Linked DNA regions of Homo sapiens: regions 1, 3, 4, 5, 6 and 7 are each linked to region 2. Evidence: promoter capture Hi-C in 16 types of primary human blood cells and fetal thymus (Javierre and others, 2016). All regions are on one chromosome and are shown on one strand. Each heading gives the region's core, a stretch centred on a gene start or on the middle of the fragment in contact. The rest is flanking DNA. Distances are from core to core; before and after follow the strand shown. Region 1 has its middle 210 kb from the start of TBCA. Region 2 holds the start of OTP (orthopedia homeobox). Region 3 overlaps AP3B1 (adaptor related protein complex 3 subunit beta 1). Region 4 overlaps AP3B1 (adaptor related protein complex 3 subunit beta 1). Region 5 overlaps AP3B1 (adaptor related protein complex 3 subunit beta 1). Region 6 overlaps AP3B1 (adaptor related protein complex 3 subunit beta 1). Region 7 has its middle 190 kb from the start of TBCA.

Evidence for each region. Contacts are between HindIII fragments. The CHiCAGO score rates a contact against its expected background, and 5 or more counts as called.
Region 1: a contact is called between a fragment that was not itself captured here and the fragment with the promoter of OTP in region 2, in 1 of 17 cell types (megakaryocytes). The highest score is 5.2, in megakaryocytes.
Region 3: a contact is called between a fragment that was not itself captured here and the fragment with the promoter of OTP in region 2, in 1 of 17 cell types (endothelial precursors). The highest score is 5.0, in endothelial precursors.
Region 4: a contact is called between a fragment that was not itself captured here and the fragment with the promoter of OTP in region 2, in 3 of 17 cell types (naive B cells, total B cells and megakaryocytes). The highest score is 7.1, in naive B cells.
Region 5: a fragment that was not itself captured here is called in contact with the fragment with the promoter of OTP in region 2 in 1 of 17 cell types (naive B cells); the score reaches 5.5 in naive B cells.
Region 6: a fragment that was not itself captured here is called in contact with the fragment with the promoter of OTP in region 2 in 1 of 17 cell types (megakaryocytes); the score reaches 5.1 in megakaryocytes.
Region 7: a fragment that was not itself captured here is called in contact with the fragment with the promoter of OTP in region 2 in 10 of 17 cell types (total B cells, naive B cells, megakaryocytes and 7 more); the score reaches 16.5 in total B cells.

The regions. Positions count from the first base shown.
Region 1 is chr5:77,987,510-77,990,688 of GRCh38, forward strand. No RefSeq gene overlaps it. Among named protein-coding and RNA genes, the nearest start is that of TBCA, 210 kb to the left of the region's middle. RefSeq lists enhancers at 186-705, 706-1,225. The HindIII fragment of the contact is 9,302 bases long and covers 1-3,179 here.
Region 2 is chr5:77,636,990-77,640,423 of GRCh38, forward strand. It overlaps OTP (orthopedia homeobox), which reads right to left and starts at 1,724. Exons shown (of 3, transcript NM_032109.3): 1 at 1,524-1,724; 2 at 1-241. The coding sequence starts at 1,560. RefSeq lists enhancers at 1,710-2,266, 2,267-2,821. The HindIII fragment of the contact is 2,017 bases long and covers 729-2,745 here.
Region 3 is chr5:78,032,366-78,036,007 of GRCh38, forward strand. It overlaps AP3B1 (adaptor related protein complex 3 subunit beta 1), which reads right to left. Exons shown (of 27, transcript NM_003664.5): 24 at 1,996-2,080. Among named protein-coding and RNA genes, the nearest start is that of TBCA, 260 kb to the left of the region's middle. The HindIII fragment of the contact is 799 bases long and covers 1,931-2,729 here.
Region 4 is chr5:78,146,991-78,150,528 of GRCh38, forward strand. The region is part of intron 14 of AP3B1 (adaptor related protein complex 3 subunit beta 1); the gene reads right to left. Among named protein-coding and RNA genes, the nearest start is that of AP3B1, 150 kb to the right of the region's middle. The HindIII fragment of the contact is 495 bases long and covers 2,013-2,507 here.
Region 5 is chr5:78,112,554-78,115,736 of GRCh38, forward strand. AP3B1 (adaptor related protein complex 3 subunit beta 1) reads right to left here. Exons shown (of 27, transcript NM_003664.5): 19 at 1,199-1,370. Among named protein-coding and RNA genes, the nearest start is that of AP3B1, 180 kb to the right of the region's middle. The HindIII fragment of the contact is 4,249 bases long and covers 1-3,183 here.
Region 6 is chr5:78,049,303-78,052,980 of GRCh38, forward strand. The region is part of intron 22 of AP3B1 (adaptor related protein complex 3 subunit beta 1); the gene reads right to left. Among named protein-coding and RNA genes, the nearest start is that of AP3B1, 240 kb to the right of the region's middle. The HindIII fragment of the contact is 344 bases long and covers 1,959-2,302 here.
Region 7 is chr5:77,969,018-77,972,239 of GRCh38, forward strand. No RefSeq gene overlaps it. Among named protein-coding and RNA genes, the nearest start is that of TBCA, 190 kb to the left of the region's middle. The HindIII fragment of the contact is 604 bases long and covers 1,487-2,090 here.

The DNA of each region.
Region 1 (3,179 bases), core at 82-2,581, 350 kb after region 2:
CAGCCAGGGCGGTCCTCTTGGCTGCCAAAGCTCTGTGCAATTGCAGTCACAGACAATCAGATTAAATGTCCTATCACCCGGCATTGATCAGATTAGCAACCTTGTGACTATTCATTAATTGTATTTTCTCTTGGAGCCTGGTTCAACTCAATACCCAGTGCATTGTTGGTGGCATAAAAAGTAAACACAAATAGGATGTTTGTTACATTTTAGAATAAACTGTCTGCTACTTTTTCAAAACAAAGTAGAAGAGGATAGAGAGGTTAATGCAATGTTAATTTTCGTGAGGCAATATAGTTAAACTAGGAGATTTCCCAAGAGTCATTAACATTCTGTAAAAGGCCTTTTAGAATTCCTGTGTCCTCAGCGCTTCAGGAAACCCCCTGCTACCTTGGTAAATTTGGCCTAGGTCCCCCAGGGCCCACCTTTTTTGTGTGGTAGAAGTCACAGAGGGCAGGCCCAAACTCTTGAAGTGAAGGGGAAAAGAAATCAGGGTGTTTATGTATGTGACTGGAGAAGTCTCACGTACGATTGTCCCGGATTTAAACATATAGGAAGAGGACGAAGGCTACCAAGGGTGTTTCCCTGCCTCAGACGCCCAAAGCCCAGAGACCCAGCCCCGCTCCCTGGGTGCACGCAGAGCCCCACCGAAGGATGCTGGCGTCCCGTGGGAGAGGGATGCCGTGGGAGGACCTGCTTCGCCCTGATTTCCACACATCTCTCTGCTGTCCCACCTGACCACAAGAAGAACCCGAGGCCCCGGGCGGTCAGGAGACTCAGTGGCTGTCACTCACTGGGCAGTAAAGCCAGTAAATCACCCACCTTCCGGCAACGTTGCCAGAACCCACCTGATGTCTTGAGGGTCACAAATGCGAGCGCCCTCCTGTTTGCTCCATTTCAGGATTCATGGCATTCCAGTGAGAAGAAATCTAGAAGAGAAGCTGCTAAATAATTATCCAGAAACATTCCCCGACAGCAAAATCTATTAATGAGTGGGAAAGTCTTTGTGGGGAAATGGTTAAGAATGGCATCATCTGACATGATTAAAATGCTATTAAATAAAGAACTTGGGAAACCGGGGAGACGCTTGAAAAGGCCGATAAACGGGGCAGCCTCACATGCGTTCCCCCGTACAGACCTTTCATGAGAACATTTCCGTTTTTCTTATCTAACATTCATCCTTTCCTCAGTTTCTAAGTGGAGAATACCCACTCCTTGGATTTTTTTAAATATAAAATAATGTCCATAATTTAATGTTTAATGAGCTCCAGGCATGGTACTGGGCACTTTATCTGTCTGAATTTTAGGTGCCCTCTTCATTTCATACTGTCCCTGCAGGGCTGGGAGAGAGAGCAGAGGAATTTCTTGTAAGTTCTCAGGAGCCAGGCAGATCTTGGGCCATGCCCAGCCGCCCTCTCCGGCTGTCTGACTCTGAGCAAGGTGGTAGCTTCTCCAAGTAGCAGTTCCCTCATCTGTAAAATGCAGATGAAGACAGCCTCTCTCAAATCTGGCTGTGGTGAGGATAGAAGAAGAAAATGTACTTTAAAAAGGATTAGCCTAAGGCCAAGTATAGGATGCCCTTCATTATGGAAGATAGCATTAAAAAATAATTTTAATTAGTGTGAATCTATTCTCCCATTTTGGTATTTTCCATATAACTTTGTTTATCATTTACTTCTTATTGCCTGTGAATCTCACAGGAGCACAAATCCCCTCCAAAGCAGATTTAATTGGGGCTAAAAAGGCAGGAATCCTATGAAAAAGAAATCTCTGTGGCCATGTGAAGGAGTAAACATTTCACTGATAGGCGCCAATGTTTGTTATTCTGTGAAAATCTGCTTAATTTATAAGCAACAGTGATACTCCCAATAGGTTAAGTTGAATTCACCCTTGAGAAATTTTAATTTCAGTGTCACTATTGTTATAATCTGGGGGTCTTCCAAGATAGACATATCAGTAGAAAAACAGTGACTCATCTGAGAAACTCAGGGCTATATATATATATACACATATATATATATTTGCATTTTTCATATGTACTTTCCAACTTCCTTCCTTTCCTCAGTATTTAAGTGTAGAATACCCACTCCTTGGATTTTTTAAACTATAAAATAATACATACGTACGTATATATGTACACACATGCACAGATATATTCTGCTTTATATAGTTTAGCATTAAAATGTATTTGAGTAATACCTAAGACCATGTCTATTTAATTTTAACCAGTGGGTTATGGGAATCATCAAAAATCAAACACAATAAAAAGAAACAATATTTATGGCATTTTAAAGCCTATCCATTATTGGTTAGTGCTCCCCTCAATTGTTTAACTGCAATTGGTTCCACTTTCTCAGTGTGGATGATTTTTATACATCTGAGTTAAAAAATAATGCTGCTTGCAAGTGAAAAGTTAAAGACCAAGACAGGGCCTATTAGAATAACATTACACTTTTTTATTCCCTGCACTTACTTTGTCAATTACTAATTATTTCCCTTTTGCTATGCAACAAAATAGAAGCCATAAAATCTTTGATTTAATGAAAACTTCCTACCAAATAGGTCCTCTAACTCTGCTGAAGGCTTATAGGTAATTTATCTACCTCAGTAGGCAATGACCTTTTGTGAATCATGAGTCATTCCTCACTCCTGATGAGAGGGATCCAGATGCCATCCCACCCTCTGCCTGGCCCCTCCTTCCTCCATCCAACAGAGGCTGTGCGGCTCCTGTGCCCTGCCTCCGACTTCTCCAAAGTGGGCTGTAATTAGTCCTTGCACAGGGAACCTGCCAGGGAGTGGATCTCCCTCCTCCTGTGCTCCTTTGGCTCCTTCGTTAAGGTGACTGAACATTCAATGTTCTTTTCTAAGTGGCCCTGAAGAAAAAGGGGTGAGGGATGGTAGAGGCCAAGGTAAGTCTTATTATTGTCTGGGAAGTGGGAATACTTCCTCACACTTCAACAGAAGCCTCTCTGCCTACTCTTCCCAAAGCACAGTTATGGAGAAAATCACCAGGGGCTCAGAATGGCATTTTGGGGTCAGTATTTTAGCGGCACAGAGCAGTGCATGCTGGGAGCCACACTGCAGTCCTGGGGTTTCCAGGTGGTTTTGACTGAGATTCTAACATGCATGTTATTTGTAAATTATATACATGTACTATTGATTGTACATTATATACATGT
Region 2 (3,434 bases), core at 474-2,973:
CTGGGGTTCGGGCCGCCCTGGGGCCCGGGCTGCTTGTCCGGGTCTTTGGCGCTCACCGCCAGCGAGGCCGGAGTAGAGCCCACTGTGGTGATGTCCTCCCCGGGCAGCAGAGTGGCTCCCTCCACTGGGTCAGAGTTGGGCGCCAGGTCCCCCGGATGGCCCCCGGGGTCGGAGCCCCCCACGCCCAGCCTACACTTCACCGCCTCCCGGTGGCCCAGAAGCTCGGCGGCATCTTTCATACCTGAGGAGGCAAGGGGATCGCGGTCACTACTTTCTTGGCGATGCCAGGAGGGGCTGTCTTCCCCGCGCAGCCTTCCTTCAACCCGTCCTCGGCCCCCTCCGCACCCGCGCTTGTCCTAAGGAAGAAACTCCCAGGGTATTCAGCTGGGTTCCCCAGAATTTGGACAGCCGGGTTGGAATAATATCTCCCGGCCCCTTGCCCTCGCCGCAGCCGGCTCCCGTAGTAAACAGCACAAGCTTTCGTCTCTCCCACAATAAAACACTCCCAGTCCCGGCAATAAAACATGCCTCTGAATCCCTTCCATAAACCGTACCCCAGGCGCCCCAGGAAATCGAGAGCAAATCTTTGGACACAGGGGTGCGGGGGGCAGAAAGAAAATTAAACAATTCCTCGGTTGCTGCGGCACCTGCGCTTCGGCAGCCTGACGAACTGTACCTCCGGCCCTCAGCCGATTCCCTCTTACTTTCGGAAGATGAATAAGCCTCCAAGCTTTCACCCCCCGAAATCAACCCAAATCAGCTCCGCCTCCCCCTCAAATCAGAGAAAGTGTTTGGAAAATGGAGTCACATCCATCACCGAAGATTCCCAATCCGGAAACCCAGAGCTCAGCAACCCAGATAGCATTAAGGAAACTCGAGTGAACTCTATGGACAACCGTGAATCAAACTTTAGAGATTTCAACTTTTCTTTCCAGAGAAATAAAAGGCGCATTCCTCACAGCCATTGGCAACGCTGAGTCCCTTGCAGAAGAGGGGGGGATGACTGTGAGGTTGAATTTGGCTTCTCTCCTTCTCAACCAGCACACTTAGCAAATCCGCCTTGATGGCAGCAGCTTCTCCTTTATGCCAGATTTTTTACAAATTACACCACACTTAGAAAAGGAGGAGAGAAGAAGATGGTGGGGAGAGAGAAACGGGGGGAGGGAAGGAGAAAGAAATCCCAAATCAAAACAAACAGGAGAGGGAAAAAAGAGAGAGAAACACCTCCTAACAAATTATCACGGGGTATATCGCCTTTCGAAAAAAAAAAAAAGGCGGGGGAGGGGGGAAGAGAAAAATAAGAAAAACAAAAAGTAACAACATTCCCCAACTCCTTTCTTGGATCTACATATTCCATAGATTTTTTTTTAAAGGCGATGTTAAATCAAATTAAACTTTAATGCAGCACAATTACTTTTAAAGAAATTAGTCCATTTAGGTCGCATTAAGGTAAAATAAGGAACAAATTGACAATTTCCTGCCCCGGCTTCTCCTGGCTGCCCGGGCGAGAGGCGCGCACTCACCTAGCCTGGCGTCCAGGAGGTCGGCATGAGACAGCATCGCGCACCGCTCCAGGGCGAAAGCTGTTCCCCCCCAAATTTTAGCGGCTTTAAGTTATTTAAAATAGATATAAGCTATAAGCTATACGATATAGATATATATAGATCACCTAAATGAAAGAAAATTCGGTTTGTGGTTAAAAAGGGGGCTTCTTGCATTATAATGTCCTTTAGAGAGACGGGGAGGTGCTTAACAGTTGAATGAACCCGTGAGCAGCTCGGCGAGGGGACCAATCAGGAGGGCAGCCTGCAAATGTCAGCGCCCGGAGAGTCCCCCACTCCGCCCGCCCGCTCGCCTGCGCCCGCCTGAAGGAGGCGGCGGCGGCAGCCCTGGCAGCTCCAGCCCGGAGCAGGAGCTAAAGCAGCCTCAGCCGCCTCGGCCTCGCCCTGAGCTTCTGGGCCCGGCTCCCTCTAGTTCTTCCCTGCGATTTTCTCCAGGCTCCCCTTTCCTTCCCCTTGGCCGGCGCTGCGCGCTTCGAAGGCGTAGCTCTGTGCCTCTGAGCTAACATCTTCCTAGGGCAGGGGCAGAGCAGGGGTCAGAGCGGGCCATGACCCTGGCGTGACCTGAGGGTCGCCCCCACCTGCGCTCTCTGGGCCTGCCGCTCATATTGGCCCGCCAGCCCAGGGCGCGACGAGGGCACACCGCGGCCTTCAGACAACGCCTGGACTTCGCCGCGGCTCAGTAGGCCTGCGCCTAGGGTCCAGGCGCCCTGGCTGTGCCCTGGGGTCTATACGAGCCCCAACCCCACAGTGGGCCTAGAGCGCAAAGAGGAGTCGGCTTCCCTGGCACCGCCAGCGCCCGCTGTCTGCTTTGGGGACCCTCGCGGAGTGTGGGTTCGAGCGCTCTGCACTCTTCTCACCGGGCTTCTTCCCGGCTCCTGCTCTTCCGCTTGGCCCACGCCCGCATCCTCGCCCCTAACTCGCTCTTTTGGTCAAAGTTTCTAAGTTCAGCTCGGCTCCCAACTCCACTTAAGGCTGTAAATAAAGTTAAATGCTCTTTATTTTCCTCTTGAATATGTTAAACTACTTGAACAATTTAAAGTGCTTTGCACAAGTGAAGCGAACCATTTCTAATGTTCTGATTTTTCAGAGCCAGCCAACAACAAAGTTTAGATTAGTAATATATTTCTAACCAGAGTAATTTTCAAGATCATTAGGCATTTATGTAATTAGTGCCAAATCTATAAGCTTTTATTACGATTATTAGAGTAAAATCAGTATAAATTTGTACTAATTTACTACTGTTTAGACTTGGCTGTCAAGCCTAGAGGTTCTTATTGTAAATGATAACTGAGGAAATTAAGTGCAAAATTCTGTACCATTTCTGATCTGCTCCTAAACAATCCGTTTCAATTGTATTTGTAGCAGAACATAATGCCCTTTTAAAGTTATTTGACTTGTATTTTTATTTGCAACACAAGAAAAATGCCCTCTACCCAGTCACAATGAAAACTGATATTTACTACTCCCAACTTGATTAACATTGATTTTTAATTCGAGAGTGATGCAATTAAGATTATTCATTTAGTGCAAATAAACCTTCCACAAAAGGGTGGCCCAATGAAGTCTGTTTTAAATAATACTGAGCAAATGGCTTTTTTTGTTCGCCGTCCAATTGACTTAGACAAAACATTGAAAATGCTGGCTGAGAGCAGATGCGAGAGGAATTGTGTGTGTGTGTGTGTGTGTGTGTGTGTGTGTGTGTGTCCTCAGCTGTATGTGTGACAGGGACCGAGCAAGGAGACAAAGGAGGCGGCAAAGCGAACTCTCGGGCAGTTTTGTTTCCTCCTTCCCTCCTGCAGCCCGTTCGCCTCCTCTCCTGCACACACACGTGCGCGCGCACACATATGCACACACGTGTGAATGCAGGGTATT
Region 3 (3,642 bases), core at 1,080-3,579, 400 kb after region 2:
AAAAATTCAATATCAGCCATTCTTGTTTCTTTTTTTCTTTTTATTGAACTACCAAGACTAATACAGCACATCACTAAGCAAAAAGTGCTATTTACTATGCAAAAGGCACAGTCAGTGATTGGCATCTAAGACCAATTGATCTACCCATTACCACTATCTCCCTACCCCCACAAGCATTACTATGAAGCTATTGATTTAAACACTGTCGATCGGTTTCCATTTTCTGATTTTGGGCAGGCCAATCAAGAAAGTGAGTAATTGTGATTACACTGCTTCAGGATCAATTACATTTGATGCAAGACAAAGTGCTCTTTTTGGAACACACACACAAAATTTTTGATCTAGCATGCTGTTGTGCTTAACAAAATCTAAAATAAATAATTTGTATCTTTATAATAACAAAACATACTAATGTAAATGCTTTTAATAGTCAAGAACATTTTCTATGTGAAATACATGAATTATTTTCCTAATGTTAGTTTGAAAGAAATTTAGAAAAAATATTATTCACATACACTCCTTGGCATAAGATAAAAATCAAATACTACCTGCATATATATCCATCCTTAAAGAGACTTAGTTAATTATGAAAGACAAAATGCAAATCCTGTTCAAGAGACTATAAAGGAAGTCTTTGTAAATAAAATTGGGGAAAAAAATCCAATTACATAGGAATCAAAAGGTTCTTTATACAAATTGATAAGAAAAAGGAATCTTTTTTAGTTCTTAATTTTGGTCTAACTTGGTACGTGAGCTTTGTCATTGGGTTCACATTGTCCAAATCATTAAAATGAATATACCTCTGGTGTCAGAGGCAAATCTATTTAGAGTGATGTTACTCATAGCCTGTTGTTCAGTAATATTGATCTGTGTTGTTTGTCTAATAGAAAAATAATAAACAATTACTAGGCAATGTTGGGAAAAGTAATCAGTTTTTATATATCACTAATACAGCAGACCTCCCAAAACATAAAGGTGATGATCTGCATAAAATCAATGTGTTATGCTACATTGCTTATATTTATCATTGCAGGTTCTCGGCAATAAAAGGTATAACATTAGGCCAGAATTACTGGTAAACTGAAAAGGTATATGAAAATGAAAAGTTCACTATGTTTAATCTATACATTTATTTTAAAATGTCTATTTCTAAAACTTCAAGACTTTTAAATCATAACAAATTCTGTTCTAAGCTAGCTAAAATGTAGGTAAAATGTCTCAATTCTTTTTAGAATAAAAACAAAGAAACTTCAACTCAAAATAGCCAATTGGGCCTTATATCAGAAAAAGAAAAGAGTTCAAAGATAATTCTCAATGATGCATGAATACGGCTTTGTTCTAATTTGCTAATAGCCTCTGAATTTCACAAGAAATGTATAAAGCATTATAGAAAAACATTAACAACAAAATCCAATCCTAAAAAAGCTCTTCTGAACAGCATTCAGCTATGAAACCTTTGCCAACTGCATAAATGTTCTCTTTTGACTTTTATCAAAGCAGTTTGTAAATGGATGTAAAAAGGAAAAAAAAAATGTGTGAGTTTTAGGTACTGATGGCATCAATAATATTCCACTTAAGAATCTCAAGATAACATGTATGTATATCTCAAAAGATATCTTCTCTGAGCTATTTAATAATATTATTAATGCTTTTAATTTCTCCTGGATTTTCCTCATGAATTTTCTCATAAATTTTCTAAAACTGGAGTGATAAGTTAAAAATTACTTAGTAGTAGCTTCTTTCTTTAACCAACAAACCATGGATTTCAATCACATATGGCAGGTTGTAATGGCTAGGTGTGTAACGAATGCTAAAAATACATATACTACACACAATTTGTACAACTATTCCAAGGCAGTCTAAACATTATCAAAGCAAAACATATTTGTTTAAATGTTTTGTCTTTCACACACACACAAAAGCTGTTGAAAGCTTAGTTTTTGATCTGCTATCCTTTACAGGTTATATAAAAAATAGAAGAACAATTGAACTTACCACAACTGGAAACTGGCAGTCTGAGTAGAATCACAAAAGTCAATACCCATTGAAACTGTAATGGATCCCTCAGGCTCAAGAGAGTCTAGGAAATAAGATAATTTAGACATGAAAACACAGAGGATGTGAAAAAGAGGCAAACTAAACACTGAAAATTTAGGTAATGTTTGTAGCTTGGTTGAAACTGTGAAATGTAATGATGGCTTAAAAATTTCAAACTAAGAATATTAAAGCAAATTACAAAGTAACCTAACTATTCTGTTTCAAGGTTTTCTTTTTCACAAATTAATTCTGCGCATACACCAATGAACACATTATACCCATTTGTTTCAGAAATACATATCTTCCTGAGAAATGTCATGTTTTCTAATATTATCTCTATAGGTACTGAAAATGAGAAGGAAATAAATGTGTTCTTGTTTCGCATACCTGTAATGGACTTTGGGAGTTCATAAGAGGTTATGTACTTAAAACTATGGCATGTTTATTCTAGATATAAAAAGTAAATTTTAAACAATGTCCAAAATTTTCAATGAAAAAAATCCTAAATTAAAAAATGTAAATCAAGTTGGAAGAAGAAATTAAGATGCACTCAGAAATTAATTAAGAGATCTCACATTGAAACCAAAATGTTAAGTCTAATTGCATTAAATACTCAAAAAAATTTGTGGCAGATTAGATTATCTTTATAAAACAAAAAATAAAATGACATTTGATAGATTTGGAATTTCAGAAGCTTCATCTATCAACTAACCAAGTATAGGAAATAACTATACCAATATACAATACAGTATTTTTTTTCAGTTAACAATGACAAAACTTAAGGCAAACAAGAACAAAATTTTATTCTGCTTATGATTTGAAAGTTTAGCTATATCTTAGAATAATTGAGGGGATCTTAAATAAATATGTATATATTTGTTTATATATAGAAACTGTCCATTTTTGATTTCTACTTTGCTCAAAGTATTCTGTATAATTGCAGCTATACCATACAATCACTTTATATTTAGCTTTATCTATTCTCTATACATCCTATCACACGTAGTTATATTTTAGCAAGCACACTTCTAATTCAATAGACTGTGACTATTCTAGGGCTTCTTGGTAAGTATGATTTGCCATTGAATGCTAACCACGACAGAGATGATGGTACAGTCGGGATAAAATAATAATTCAATAAGCTTCATTTATTAAGTATTATGTTTATATCTCATAGGCTCAATGAGGAGTAAGCATTACAAGAGAGTATTTGTTCAATGCTGATTTTAAAATGCTATTTGTTAGGCAAAGGAAGTATGTTAAAAATAAAAAAAGTAATAATTAAAATGCTATTTGCTCAGTGGTATGTATGTTAGTTTGCTGATTCTAGTTTGAATTTCATTTGTTTACAAACCTAACATTTTCCAGGATGCCACTCAAATACTAGAAGACTTGCTCCCTAAATCTCTAGCAAACAGGCTTTACTGTAGGGTAAATAACTATAATGATACATATGTTTTTTTCATTTCTCATAAAGCTATGTGCTGTCAACAGTTTAGAGCTTTGTCAGTCACACGCTGCTCCAGGCTATTCTTGAGTGAATTCTTAATGCCTTCTGTGCCATAACTATTTTGGGGTTTGGTCTTGTTTTTATCTGACACATTA
Region 4 (3,538 bases), core at 1,010-3,509, 510 kb after region 2:
TCTGTTCAAGAGATATAAGGTTTTAGCTATATTTACTAAATAAGTTTTTGATTACTTAATTTTCTTACTTATATCTGTCTACTAGAAATATCTAATATGAGAGAAATACATTACAGTCACACATTGTAACTATTTTATCAATTTCTCCTCACATTTTGAATAGATTTTTCCTTTACATATTTATTTGGTTGCCATATTTTTTGTGCAAATAGGTTTGTGCTTATTACTTTCTTTACAAATTACCCTTTTTTCATTTTATAATGTTCCTTTTTATCTTGTTAAATGCTTTTAATTAACTGTAAATCTCACTTTCTTGTTCATATTTGCTTAATATCTCTTTCCTTACCTTCTTATTTTCAACTTTTATCACTTGATTAAGGTGCTTTAACTATAAATGGCCTGTAGCTAGTTTTTGTTTTTATTCCAATTTGTAAGTCTGTCTTTTGATGAGAAAATTCAGTCCATTCATATTCAAGATGAGAAATATTTGATTTTATTTCTTCCATCTTTATTACTTTTAAATACTTATTATTTATTTTACATTTGTTTTCTTTCTTTCTTATTTTTTTTCTGGCTTTGTAAAACTGCTATTTGTTCCTTTATTTTCCTTTGTGAATACTGAATTCTCACCATATTTTTGTATCTATTAATGGTTATCTTCTGAGAAAAACAAAAGCTGAAAAAAATAAGCTTTGCTATATAGAGCTGTAAGACTGTACTTATTTGGCTTATAGTCCAGCAACTGTTGAGAAAGTTGATGCATCAGCCAGGTGCCATGGCTCACGCCTGTAATCCCAGCACTTCGGGAGGCTGGGGTGAGATCACCTGAGGTCAGGAGTTTGAGACCAGCGTGGTCAACATGGGGAAACCCCATCTCTACTAAAAACACAAAAATTATCCAGGCACGGTGGCGCATGCCTGTAATCCCAACTACTCAGAGGCTGAGGCAGGAGAATCACTTGAACCTGGGAGGTGGAGGTTGCAGTGAGATGAGATTGCGCCACTGCACTCCAGCCAGGGTGACAGAGCAAGACTCCATTAAAAAAAAAAAGGGAAAGAGAGAGAATGAGCGAGAAAAAGAAAGTTTACACATCAAAAGTATCTTCTGTATCCCTGGACATGAATATACTCAAATAGAAGAAAGTTTTCTTCCAAGAAAGCCTAGGGTTTGCCAGATACAGGCCTCATACACTGTTACAGGTTTTATGTATAGCAGCTGCACTCTCCTGAAGCCCTAGTACTTATAATTGCCTCTTCCTTTCTAAACAGGACCAGAACGAGTTTACTAGCACAAGTTTTAACTAAATTTTGCACAAGAAGTCTGGGGAGATACAGAACTCCTAGTTCCTTCTCATAATCAGATACATACTTCTCTACCATTACCTGTAAACAAGGTATTAACTATTTCCCTCACTAAAACCCATGGTTTTCACCTCAAGATAATTATTTTTACCTTACTACTTTTTGAACACCAGATGAGACTACCATAATAATTTCACTTCTCTCCACTCTCTTCCTCCCACAAAACCTTTAACATTCTTTTATTCTGACCTCCATTTAATCTCATTCCTCAGTTTTCCTGAATATTCAATGTTTTTAGTTCTAGGTTAATAGAATTTTCCTTATATTATGCCCCCTTCTTTATCAAGAGTTCAAATTTAGCACTTTGGTTAGACATTCCTAGTCTATTGCTATACATTTATTAGGTTGGTGCAAAGGAATTGAGGTTTTTGCCATTGTGGTAAAAACCACAATTATTTTTGCACCAACCTCATAATCATGTGTAAATATACAGTCACCTATATATCTCTCTTCTTTGTCTTCTTCCATCTAGAGTTCTCTGTGCTAGTTCATTAGCTATTGGTTAGACAAGTGGTTCTTCCTGGGGGCTGTATCACTTCGTAGGAAGTAACTAAATATGAGCAGTGTTACAATGACTAGAGACACGACTGAATTTTGATGCTTGGTGGATAGGAATGCTAGATGTCCATTTCGGCGGCTTTGAGAAAAAAAGCTTAACCTCTCATTTCCCATCAAAGTAATGTCAAACATCTGTTCTACACTGCGGTAGACATTGATCATGTCACTCTAATTCCCAATTTGTCAATGACTTGAGGGAAGCAAAAGGAAATAATAAAAAAAACCTTGGCTAGGTCACTGAGTAGGTATGTGAACTGAATACAGAAAAAGGACCGGTGACAATTTAAATATTTGTTAAATAAAGTGAAATTTTTAAACAGATAGATTATAAATGGAAGTGAGATACAACATAATGCACTGGTTAAGAAAGCAGACCTGCTGCTATGTGACCTTGGGCAAGTTACATAACCTCTTTGTGCCTCAGTTTTCTCAAATATAAAATAGGAATATTAAGAGAACTTTCCTTGAAGTGTTGCTATTAAAAATTAATAATTTATATTTTTAAGGTACTTAGAATAGTGCCTGGCAAATGATATGCTCTATAGGAGTTATTTTAAATAAGTAAAATATAAAAGAGGCAATAAGAAAGCTTACAAAATTAAAACCTTACCATAGTCTGTCTTCTTCAAAAAACACTCAATATTCCCTTAATAACAGCTTACACCGAGCACTGTTCTAAGTGCTTCACATGCATTGACTCATTCATTCCACCCAACAGAGCTCTAAGGTTGTCAGTACTATGATCCCCATTGTACAGATGAGAAAACTGGAGCATAGTGAAGTCAAGTAACTTGCTTAAGTTCATGAAGCTAGTAAAAGGTACAGACCAACTGTGAATCCAAGTCATCCGGTTTTCAAATTACTCTCTTAACCCCTACATCTCTCATACACAATCTCTATGAGAAGTCTTGGCTTTGATCATTAGAATCAACAGTAAGAACAGATATGAATACAAAGTAACTCTCCGCTGAGAGATGGGGTGGAAGTTCAGATGCTAAATGACTCCTGTAAGCCATACTTTTTTTTTTTTTTAGCTTTAAGATAAATGTGTAACTGCCTTGCAAGCTTTACTAACACCCTAAGGGAAAGACAATTTTGCCACCAGAGATATTTAAAATTGGTCTTGACTGGCAGGTTCTAAATCTTGTGATCCATTACCCTTGACTACACAAAAATGATCCCTCTGAAGAGAATGAGAATACAGATTAACCCATCTTCAAAAAAGGAAATAATATACTCCTCCCTAAACTACATCTGCATTTATTATAGAACATCACTTGGCAAAACATTAACCAGCACTCAAGAAAAAGGCATAGTAAAAAGCAAACACAATGGAGAAGAAATAGCTGAAGAGTTTGAAGAAAAACCAGAAGAGAAAAATCACAGAAGCCATGAGGAGACTATTTCAAAAAGGACGAAGTAGTTAGCGTAGTCCAATGCTAAGAAAAGATCAAGGAAGATAGGGACAGAAAAGTATCCACTGGATTTAGAAAGGAGATAGTAACCTTGGAAAAGGCATAGTTAATGAAGTGCTGGAGAACCAAAATCCAACTGTGACGGGGAGGGAGTTTGACGTAAAGGAATAAAACTTGTTGCAGATAGTTCTTTCAAAAACTTT
Region 5 (3,183 bases), core at 405-2,904, 480 kb after region 2:
TTTCCCTTTCTAGAAACAGGACATGTTTTATAACTCGTATCATCATAGACATGCTGATATTAAAGCAGAAGTACAGGATTTCTCTCAAAGACAAGGCTATTATAAACCAAGTAGCTCCTTTGCTGCAACAAGTGAATGATTCTAAATATATTCAACTTCTAGCTTTTAAGATAAGATTTTAAAAGTAAAAGTGTTATTTTATTATGCATCACTCAATTTTGATGGTAATTATTGTTTACCTTACTGCTTAGAGTTTCAGATGTTAATCTAATGAAAAGAATTTACTGGTAACTAGGTTTTTAACTTTGCAATGATGAAAAGCCTGTATTAATTTAACCTACAGATTTCATTTGTTCTGAACAGGAAAAACAATATAAATCACTTTTAAAATCATTAAATCCTGACTTAAATTAATAAAGTCATAATTAGGGCATTATGCTGTGTTTGTTATGGAAGTGGCAGGGAGAGCTGCTTTAATTACTGTCTGTAATAAAAGGAGCAGAGAGCGTACTGCGCCCCAATCAGTGCTGTCAGCCACGACTGAGCCGGGCTGCAAGCTCATCAAGTGAGCGGGCAGCAGGCTCCCGGGGAAAGGACCATCATGTCGGCAGAGGCCACTCGCTGACAGCAGCGGGGAAAACAGAGTTGCACAATCCAAGATATTAGACCCAATTACTCAAAATTTTAATGACACTTTAATACATGATAATGTTATTGATAATGGGAGATCTTAAAAAGTGCTAACACTTAAAGATCTTATGACCGTCTTCCTTCACAGCCCTTGACTCTAATATTTGGATCATAATCTTTTTAATATAACATTATTTAGAAAAATCAATTGTCTTGGTTACATAATGGCAAAGTGTTGAAGGATTTAATTTTAGCCCTCAGCAAAATCGCTACAAAAGGTAATTAAGTGTTTCATACCTATTGCTTGATCACTTAACTCAGCCTTCCAAGGTTATACCAATTTTCAAAATGTAACCCCAAGATATGTTCAAGTTCAAAATGAAAGCTAAGCATTACAAGTAGGAAAATAATGTGAACAACTAGCACTTTAATTTTAAAAAGATTTAATATCTGGAAAAAAATACACACTTTTTTTCTCTCACCATTTTTTGATTAATAAGAAACATCTCTGCCTGGGGCAAACTTTCACAGAATATTTTTTGAAGGAAATTCTGACAAAATAAGTTACCTTTTTCCTTTGGCTTTTGAGTTCCTCTTGGCTGTTCTTTTGTTTTCTAGGCCTGACTCCCGTCCACTCTCACTGTCCTGCTCACTGGAGGAGTCCTCACTGCTGTCCTCATTGCTGTCTCCTTCCTCCCCACTTTCGCCTTGTTCTCCACTTTCACTTCCAGATTCACTCTCTGAAAAACAGAACCAGATGTTCTTAGATTTATAGTCATTTAATTAGACACACGGACACCTGTAACTGTCAATATTCATCACAAATGAAACCAGATGTTGAATTTTAGTTCAGTGGACACCACTTGTTTAACATTTTATTCCCACACCCCATTCTTTCAGCTCTATGGATTCCTTTAGCACTGTGAGCTTGGAGGGAGGCAGACAGAGGATGCTCTGACAACGAGGAGAGAAAAGCTAAGCAAAGGTGAACCAAGTAAACCAAATTTGAGGGAATCTCACTTCAAACCCCAAAGTATATAGCTATGTCAAAAACTTTCTTTTAAAGAATTACGTAAGGATTGATGTAAGGCTAAAGAAATAATTTTGAATTCTTCTGCTTGTAATGGGAAATTCTATTTAGAGTAAAAGAAGGCAACAGTTGAATCTTCTTAGGAACAAATTTTGAGAGGAAAATGAGCCATTCAAATCACTTGGAAAGACCTCCAAATTCAAAGACAATAGGCAAAATGACTAATTAAAGAGTTATTACTTATTCGAGCTAGTAAACGAGTTTTCCATAGGTCAAAGAGATGATCAAGTTACACTGAGGAATTATACTTTTAAATGTTTTATGTGTAAATTATGGTATGCTAGGACTGTTCGCAGAAGAGAATACATGAAGAATATATGTGTATTTTTTAAGTGAAGCATAATTTTTACTATTTAAAATGACTATAACTACAGAGTTGTGTCCCAGACAAAAGGACAAACTGTTGCCCTGCCTGTGATCTATGTAACGAAGCCCTCTTAGGCAGGAACATAACCTTTAATTAAACATTCTAATGGTTAAATAATACCAACATCAGGAAGGTCCATCACAGTGAAAACCTAGGACTGCCTGTATTGTTTTAAGACGGCTTACAAGGGGTACAAGCATGGGTTCTCAAGTTAGTGTTCGGATTCAGATCCTGGCTCTTCTACTTGCCAGTTGTAAAACTGAACAAGTTATTCAACTTCTCTGGGTTTTGGTTTCCTTTTCAGCAAATGGGGATAACACTAGTTACTTTTCAGAGCTGTTGTGAAGATTAAATGATTTGAAACATACAAAGGAGATTAGAACACAACAGGGTCTGCCACAGGGTAAGGCACTCATCATTATCATCATTTACAAACAGGAAAGTTTATTTTACTAAAATAAAGCTACTAAATAAGGACATTTTAGATTTGTGGTAATATCCAAGTTACACGCACATACATATTAAGTCAGATAACTGGCTTATGCTATAAACAATGAAAGAAATTACAGGTAATGTATCACAGATTAATTTATCAGATACTAAAAACAAAGATTTTTGATAAGGAAGACAGAGAAAAGAAGAGTGAATTACCTTACAGTAGGGTAGCAGATAACCATGTAAGAGTGACAGGCCCTGGTTCTCCAAGGAATAAAGATTTTAGAGAAAGTTGGGTGTCGTTTGGTCTTGGGTCAGATTTGCCTATTAGCTTAAGTGTTAATAAGAGCATCAGAAAGTGACTACAATCTATTTTTCATTATGCAAATCACTCACAGAATTTTAGCAATGAAGGGACTTTAAGAAATATTTAACTGTACCCCTTCATTTATCTGATATAGAGAAAAGTAGGTGCCTTATTCAATTTGCATAGGTAAAAGCCAGGGCCTCTAAATCCTTCCTATTAAGCATTCTTTTCACTGCATATAGTTACCCTCAACCTTTAGTTTGATTTTTTTATAGTATATAGAGACTTAATAATTTTAGCTTTATCTCTATAGAGGTTCACAGAAAGAGATAAGTATAAAATGAAAGAGAAAAA
Region 6 (3,678 bases), core at 881-3,380, 410 kb after region 2:
CAATAAGAACACCGTTATTTCAAACACAAAGTAACTACAAATCATTAATCATTACTCACCATTAATTTATTAATTCATTCTTTCATGTAAATAACATTTATTCAATGAGTTGTACCAGCCCTGTGCTAAGGAGTATGATACAGAGACAAAGCCAAAGTATCCTAGTCCTCAAGAAGTTTATTGTTTAGCCTGGGAAAACAGAGTAAATCAACTAGTGTGATAAATGTCATGACAGAAGCAGGCTCAGTAGGCTAGAAGAACACAAAAGTCATAGCTGACACCTGAGGGAGTCATCATGGATGAAAACCCAGTTATTTTAATGAAATAATCTGGCTATTTCTCACTACTGCCACTGTGGCCAGCCCGGTCTGAGCCACCACCACCTATCATCTGGATTATTCCAACAGCCTCCTAATTGGTTTCCTTGTTCCTACCCCTGCATCTTATTGAACATAGACTGAATTGCTATGTTAGTCTATCCTGAACACAGCAGCTAGAATGTATCAGTTAAAGTTACATCATGCACTGGGGTGATGAAATAATTTGTACACCAAACTCCGTGATATGAGTTTACCTGTATAACAAACCTGCACATGTACCCCTGAACCTAAAATAAAAGTTAAAAGAAAAAGAAAAGTTGTATCATGTTACCCCTCTGCTCAAAACCCGCCAATGGCCAGGATCCTTGTTCCATTTCCTTGATCTTGTTTCCTATTACTCTTGAACTCGTTGTTTATTCTACTCATCGCCATGACTTCCTTGCTATTCCTTTTGCATATTAGTAACAGTCCCACTATAGGTTATTCCCTGGGACCCTCTACCTGGAAGGCACTTTCTCCAGAGACCCACATGGCTCAGCTCTAGTATGTCTGCTCAAATATTACCATCTTAGTAAGGCTTAACCCATTGGCATCCCTCCCTTCTGATTTCCTTTTTCCTTTTTTATAGACACTTAATACCTTCTCTAACACAATATATAATTTACTTTTTTGTTATGTTTATTACCTGTCTTCCCATCTACTTCCCACTTTTATGCTCAATGTATTAAACTTAATTTTACCCTTTCTCAGAACTCAAAGCATAATTTTACTATTTTAAATGATTATGGAAATTTGCAAATAATATACCTCTAGTGTTGGTCATAACTATACATTATTTAATGCTGAGTGCTCAATTATAACAGTGTCCTTAAAAATACTACAGCCTTATAGGAACACACTGTGGTGATATGTGGAGATCTTCTATATTAATATTTGTTGGTTTTATGATATAACTTGAATTTTCTATTACATAAAATTGTGAACAAATAAAGAAGTACATTTCTTAAATGCACAAAGAACAGCTTATTGAGGGACTTCTATAATTCAAACACTAATTCTTGAAATGTCTACTTATAAGTGTATTATTTTATTAAAACTTATATAAACAAGAGTATGAAAGACAAAGTTTGAAAACATTAGTTTTGATTTAATTGTTTAACGACTAACATTCAAAGAATTAAAAACTTAGATGCATTATAAGCAAATGATATAGGTCATCTTTACTATGGCTCGTGAGGAAGTAATTAGTTCAGTAACTGCAGTAACTGTAAAATAACAAGCCTCCCCCAAGAGTTAACAGAACAAAAAGCATCCAGTAACAATGAGATAATCCTCTACAAATCTTTACACAGCATATGTTTAAATAATAAAAGTCGTTTGTGTACCTTTAGATGGTTTATGAAAATAAGCAATCAATTCTGCAGACACAACATTATTTCTAAAGGAAATCTATGTGACTCATGATGCCTGTAGATACACAGAGACAAACCACACATATTTTATCAGTTTATTACAGTAAGCAAATAAGCGTGGAATGAGAGTGCACATAACTGTCTACTTAGCGCTTACTGAAACATTTATAAGAGCTGTTATCTCCCTAATAACAGACAGACAGCGTGCAATTTTAGAGAGGAGAAAAGCTTCATATTTTTTAACACTTCACTAAAAAGTAACTGAAGAGTGTAAAATGAAAAATACTCTGTGCAGTTAGCTGGTAATGGACCATATTATCAACTCAAGTTAGATTTATAGGATACAAACTAGTCACTAATAGTTATTTTATGACATAGCATGTCTGCTTTTTTTTGAGATTATTAAGATTAAAGTTGTAAAACTTCTTTTGAACATAGCTGTTCAAAATGATTGAATTATAAAATTTAAAATGAGATTCGAAAAATAAAACATGGAATAGCAAGTAAGTGCCTTGGAATAAGCCTTGTTCAGCATCCACATTACTATTCAAAGATGACATTTCCACGTAAAGCTTTATGAAAACAATGTTTCCCAGCCTTTTATGCTTTAATCCACATTTAGTTACCCAGTCATTAAGTATTATCAATCCATTCTGTTTTTGAATTTCAAAGATATGAAAATCTGCAGTATATAAAATGCTCTTTGTATCTAGTTTTGTTTGGCTTACTTTACATCAGTATCTATTTTGATATATAATTTATAAAAATGACGAGGTAAGAAAATAGCTATAAACAGAGGCACAGCTTCATCTTTAAAATTAGTACTTTTAAAACCAATGTATGTCTCAATTGATAAGATTTGTAATGCAGAAAGTCACAGTATTGTCTCATTTATCCTATAAACTGTAGAAAGTGGGTCTTGATTTTACCTTCAATCCATTTCATTGAGGCTAGCATTAACCTAGTATTGACCTAGAATAGGATTTAAAAAAGTAAACGGCAAATTTGGTTAACTCTTACATATAAGCACAGACTCGAAGAAATATATTTGAATCTTCCAGCAAATATTACTTCAAATAAATGGTTTTTAATACTAAAGATAACTTCTTCCTTATGTATATAAATTTTGATATACAAATTTATGATAATTTCTCATATTTTATTTTAGTAATCACTATACATTATAAAGCACACAAGACTTTCTCACCTCTTATTTTGGTAATAATATATATTAAAAATATATTTGTGGAAATACGTGAACACATAATGAACAAATATTTAATGAGCATCTTATTTCATGCTCGGTATTAAGCAGGCACCAGCAAACCATGCTTAGAGGCCAAATCTGGTCCACTGTCTATTTTTGCAATGCCTGTTCACTAATAATGACTTTCACATTTCTAAATGGTTGAAAAATCAAAAGTAATATGATTGTAACATTAAAATGATATGAAATTCATTTTAGTGTCTATAAATACAGCTTTACTGGAACACAGATGCACTCATTTATTTATGTATTATCTGTGGCTGCTGTTGCATTAAAATGGCAGGGTTGAGTGGTTGTGGCCTGCAAAGCTGAACATCTTTACTACCTGGCCCTTTACAAAAAATGTTTGCCGATCCCTGGTATAGGATATATTCAATTTACAATGGTTTTGATATAAGGAAATTAATATCCCATTCTTTCTCCTCCCCAAAGACAGATCAATAAACTTCACTATCAATACACTTACTGCTTTTCTATATATCTGAAAGCCAGAATAATGTCTATATTGTTTTATATATCACGTACGTGGTAAATAGCACCAGAACCATGAATACTGATATGTTATACTATTCATACATATGTTCTCCTATTCTTTTTATATTTCTTTTCTGACTTTTGGCTTAAGAGTACTAATAAAAACAGACTGAATTTGACTTGTAAAGTGTTCAGCATGAAGTTC
Region 7 (3,222 bases), core at 539-3,038, 330 kb after region 2:
GGGGGTGGATCATGAGGTCAGGAGTTCAAGATCAGCCTGGCCAATATGGTGAAACCCCATATCTACTAAAAATACAAAAATTAGCCGGGCGTGGCGGCGGACGCCTGTAGTCCCAGCTACTCAAGAGGCTGAGGCAGGAGAATCGCTTGAACCTGGGAGGCAGAGGTTACAGTGAGCCGAGATTGTGCCACTGCACTCCAGCCTGGGCGACAGAGCAAGACTCCAACTCAGAAAAAAAAAAGAAGAAAAAAAAAGAAACAAAGAAATTCCCAAACACTCAGGGTGAAGCCGAGAGGAGGTGAGTGGATCTGGTTAGTATATATTGTAGCTGAGACTCCAGGTTTATAGTGCCCATGATGTCCTCAGCTTAGATTTCAGCAGTTTCACTAGAGTGACTATAATTTCCAGAGCTACCAAATGCTACCCAGAGTCTGACCACATTACCAGAAATTTCAGATTAGATCTAGATTTAAACAGATACACCTAAACTTGGGGGTAAGGGGCTAACTTTTTTCTTGGTTAACATAACTTAATTTCAGTGTATTTCTCTTAAACACCTAGCTACACCAACAAGGTAGATGCTTAATAGTTCAGACACATTCTGAAGTTTATGCCTCAAAGGCAATCATAGGAATTCCAAGAGTGATTCATACACAAATAAATCTGTAACTTTCCAGCAGAATTATTTTTAAAACCTACCAAATATTACCTTTTCTTCTACAGGCTAGATTATTTCTTGCTTACCCATTGTACTGATAGCCAGGGAGAGCCAGGGAGAAGTATGATAATCAAACTCCATTCTATCTGCTAGCTCTGTCCTATTTTCTTCATGAAATTTTTATCAGCAATGATAAAATCAGCTTCTTGAGTATTAGTATGCTCCTTGTAGAGCTGGGAGGAGAAGGCAAAAAGCCAAAAGAGCAGAAAGAGTGGGAGACAAAAGAAGCAGAAAACTCGAAAACAAACAATATAATCCTAACCTCAAATAACCAAGACATGGCAACACTTTCAAATACTGAAAACTCCTTTACATTTGTAATTGTTTCACAATTTCTAGATATGTAATCAAGGAATAACACCCATTTTAAATTATTTCTTAAATCAAGAATTTGAAAAGTTTTTTGTGCCAGAAAAATGTTAATGTTTATAAATGCCTGAATAATTAACATTGACAAGGTATAACAAAAACATTTGATGTTTTTCTCACATACTTATAATGCTTATGGCTTGACTGGAATAATGACAAATAGGAGGAATACTTGGAAAATTTCACTGCGTGTGTGTAGGTTTAAGCAAAATATTTAACCGTTCTGGGCCTCAGTTTCTTCATGTGCACGTAGGGCTGTAAAGAGAGTATGATAATCTCTAAATTTCTTTCTAGTTCTAGGAGACAACAAAGTAAAATCTGCAAAGTATAACAATTAGGATCAACAAAATTCCTGCATGAATTCCAACATTTGCCATAACAATATATGGTTTTTCAGAAAGCTTAATATCTCTTTGTGGTATTTTTGTTTTTAAGTATTGTGTTAATATACAGCATTAACTTAAATGTTATGCTCTAATCAGCAGCTTGGATGACCTTAGAGTTTTACAACTGAAACGCATTGAATCGATCCAGTAAAACATATTTGGGATTTTGCCATTGCAAATCCAGCTTTACGATTTACTGACAACAAATGGACTAAAGGAAATCTGTGTCTGCAACATCCAACACTGGCTCTGCTATCTCTCTATCCATACTTGAGGCAATGAATGATCTTTCTGCAGCCAGCTATTGAAATTTTCAATCGTGAAATTAATTTCATTCTTTTACCCAGATATGCAGATATCCAGGTCAACATTTTCTGGAAACATATTAAATGGAGTGGCACAGAAGGTTGTACAGGGCAACAAAAATGGCAATTTTGGACAATTCAACGAGACGTACAGCCAGATCACAACTCTTTCACAGCTTCACTATAAAACTCCCAGCCTCTAAAAGGAAAATCTCTCGTGATGCAAGAGAAATAAGTGGGAGCTGTACCAAAGTACATTATATTGTGACACAAAAAGCATAAATCGTGTGTGTATGAAAATCATAAGCCCTAAGCTTTAGAGAGAGTTGTGCAATTGACAATCAAATGGAGCTTAAAGGGAATTAGGAGGTTTTCAACTAAAGTCTTGAAATAAAGAAAGTAATATTTTACGGCAAAAAATTGCAAGTGTCAAGTTTAAATCATAAGACTTTGCACCATTGAGCTACTAGCTAGTTCTATAGCTTCTTCAGTCCTTAACACAGGGAAAGACCAACTTTCATGCTTGATAAAACTTAAGAACTTTAGAAATACATTTAAGAACATAATTCATGTATTTGTGACTTTTTCCCTCCCTAAATGGCTAATTGTAGAAGAAAAATGAGTGAGCATAAGAACTTCTTGGATGGTGACCTATTCCCCCATTTGCTTTAGACTCTCATGAATTCTTGTGTTTTTTAAATAGGGCTGCCACCAATTTGGTCATTCGAAGAAAAGGCGGGTCTCAGGAATATGGATGGCTGTCCTCCCTTTCCCCTTCAGATGTCAGCCGCATCTACTCCTGCTTTTGGAAAACCCCAGGGCAAACGGACCTGCCAGGCAGCCAACCAACCACCAGCCCCCGTGAAAGGCTGGAACCCAGCTGCCCAATTCGGTTGCTCCTGTCCAAAGCCAGACAGGTGGCAACCCAGATTGAATCTGTTGTTGTGGGAATGATTTGATTCACAAACAAGGTTATTAAATTTTATATGGAGACACAGGCGAAAGTCACAAGATCCTGGAGAGAAAGACCTGATTCACATAAATTTATCTTAATAGCTGTGAATTCGGGAGCATAAAGCAGAAAAAAAATTAATGGAAAGGCATTTCACCTCCTCCGTTTGCCTGCTCTCCTCCACTCCCCGGCACATAATATGCCCACACACACACATACATCAACAACTGCCATGACTCCATCCAGCCTTTTGCAGGAGGAGCCCAACACATTGATCTGAGCCTGTTTTGACATATAAACTCCAATTTGGCCCCAAGTCACTGCGAGTGGACACTGCCACCAACGTCTCTGACACTAGGTTATTTGTTGTTGCTGTTCGCTGTCCCTGTTTGCACATTAATCCAGTAACAATTAGGTGTCAGCGAGCGTTGTTTCTGCTTAGCTGATAGCCTTGGGCTCTGCGCTTGAAGCCCTAATCAGGAGTGTAAACTC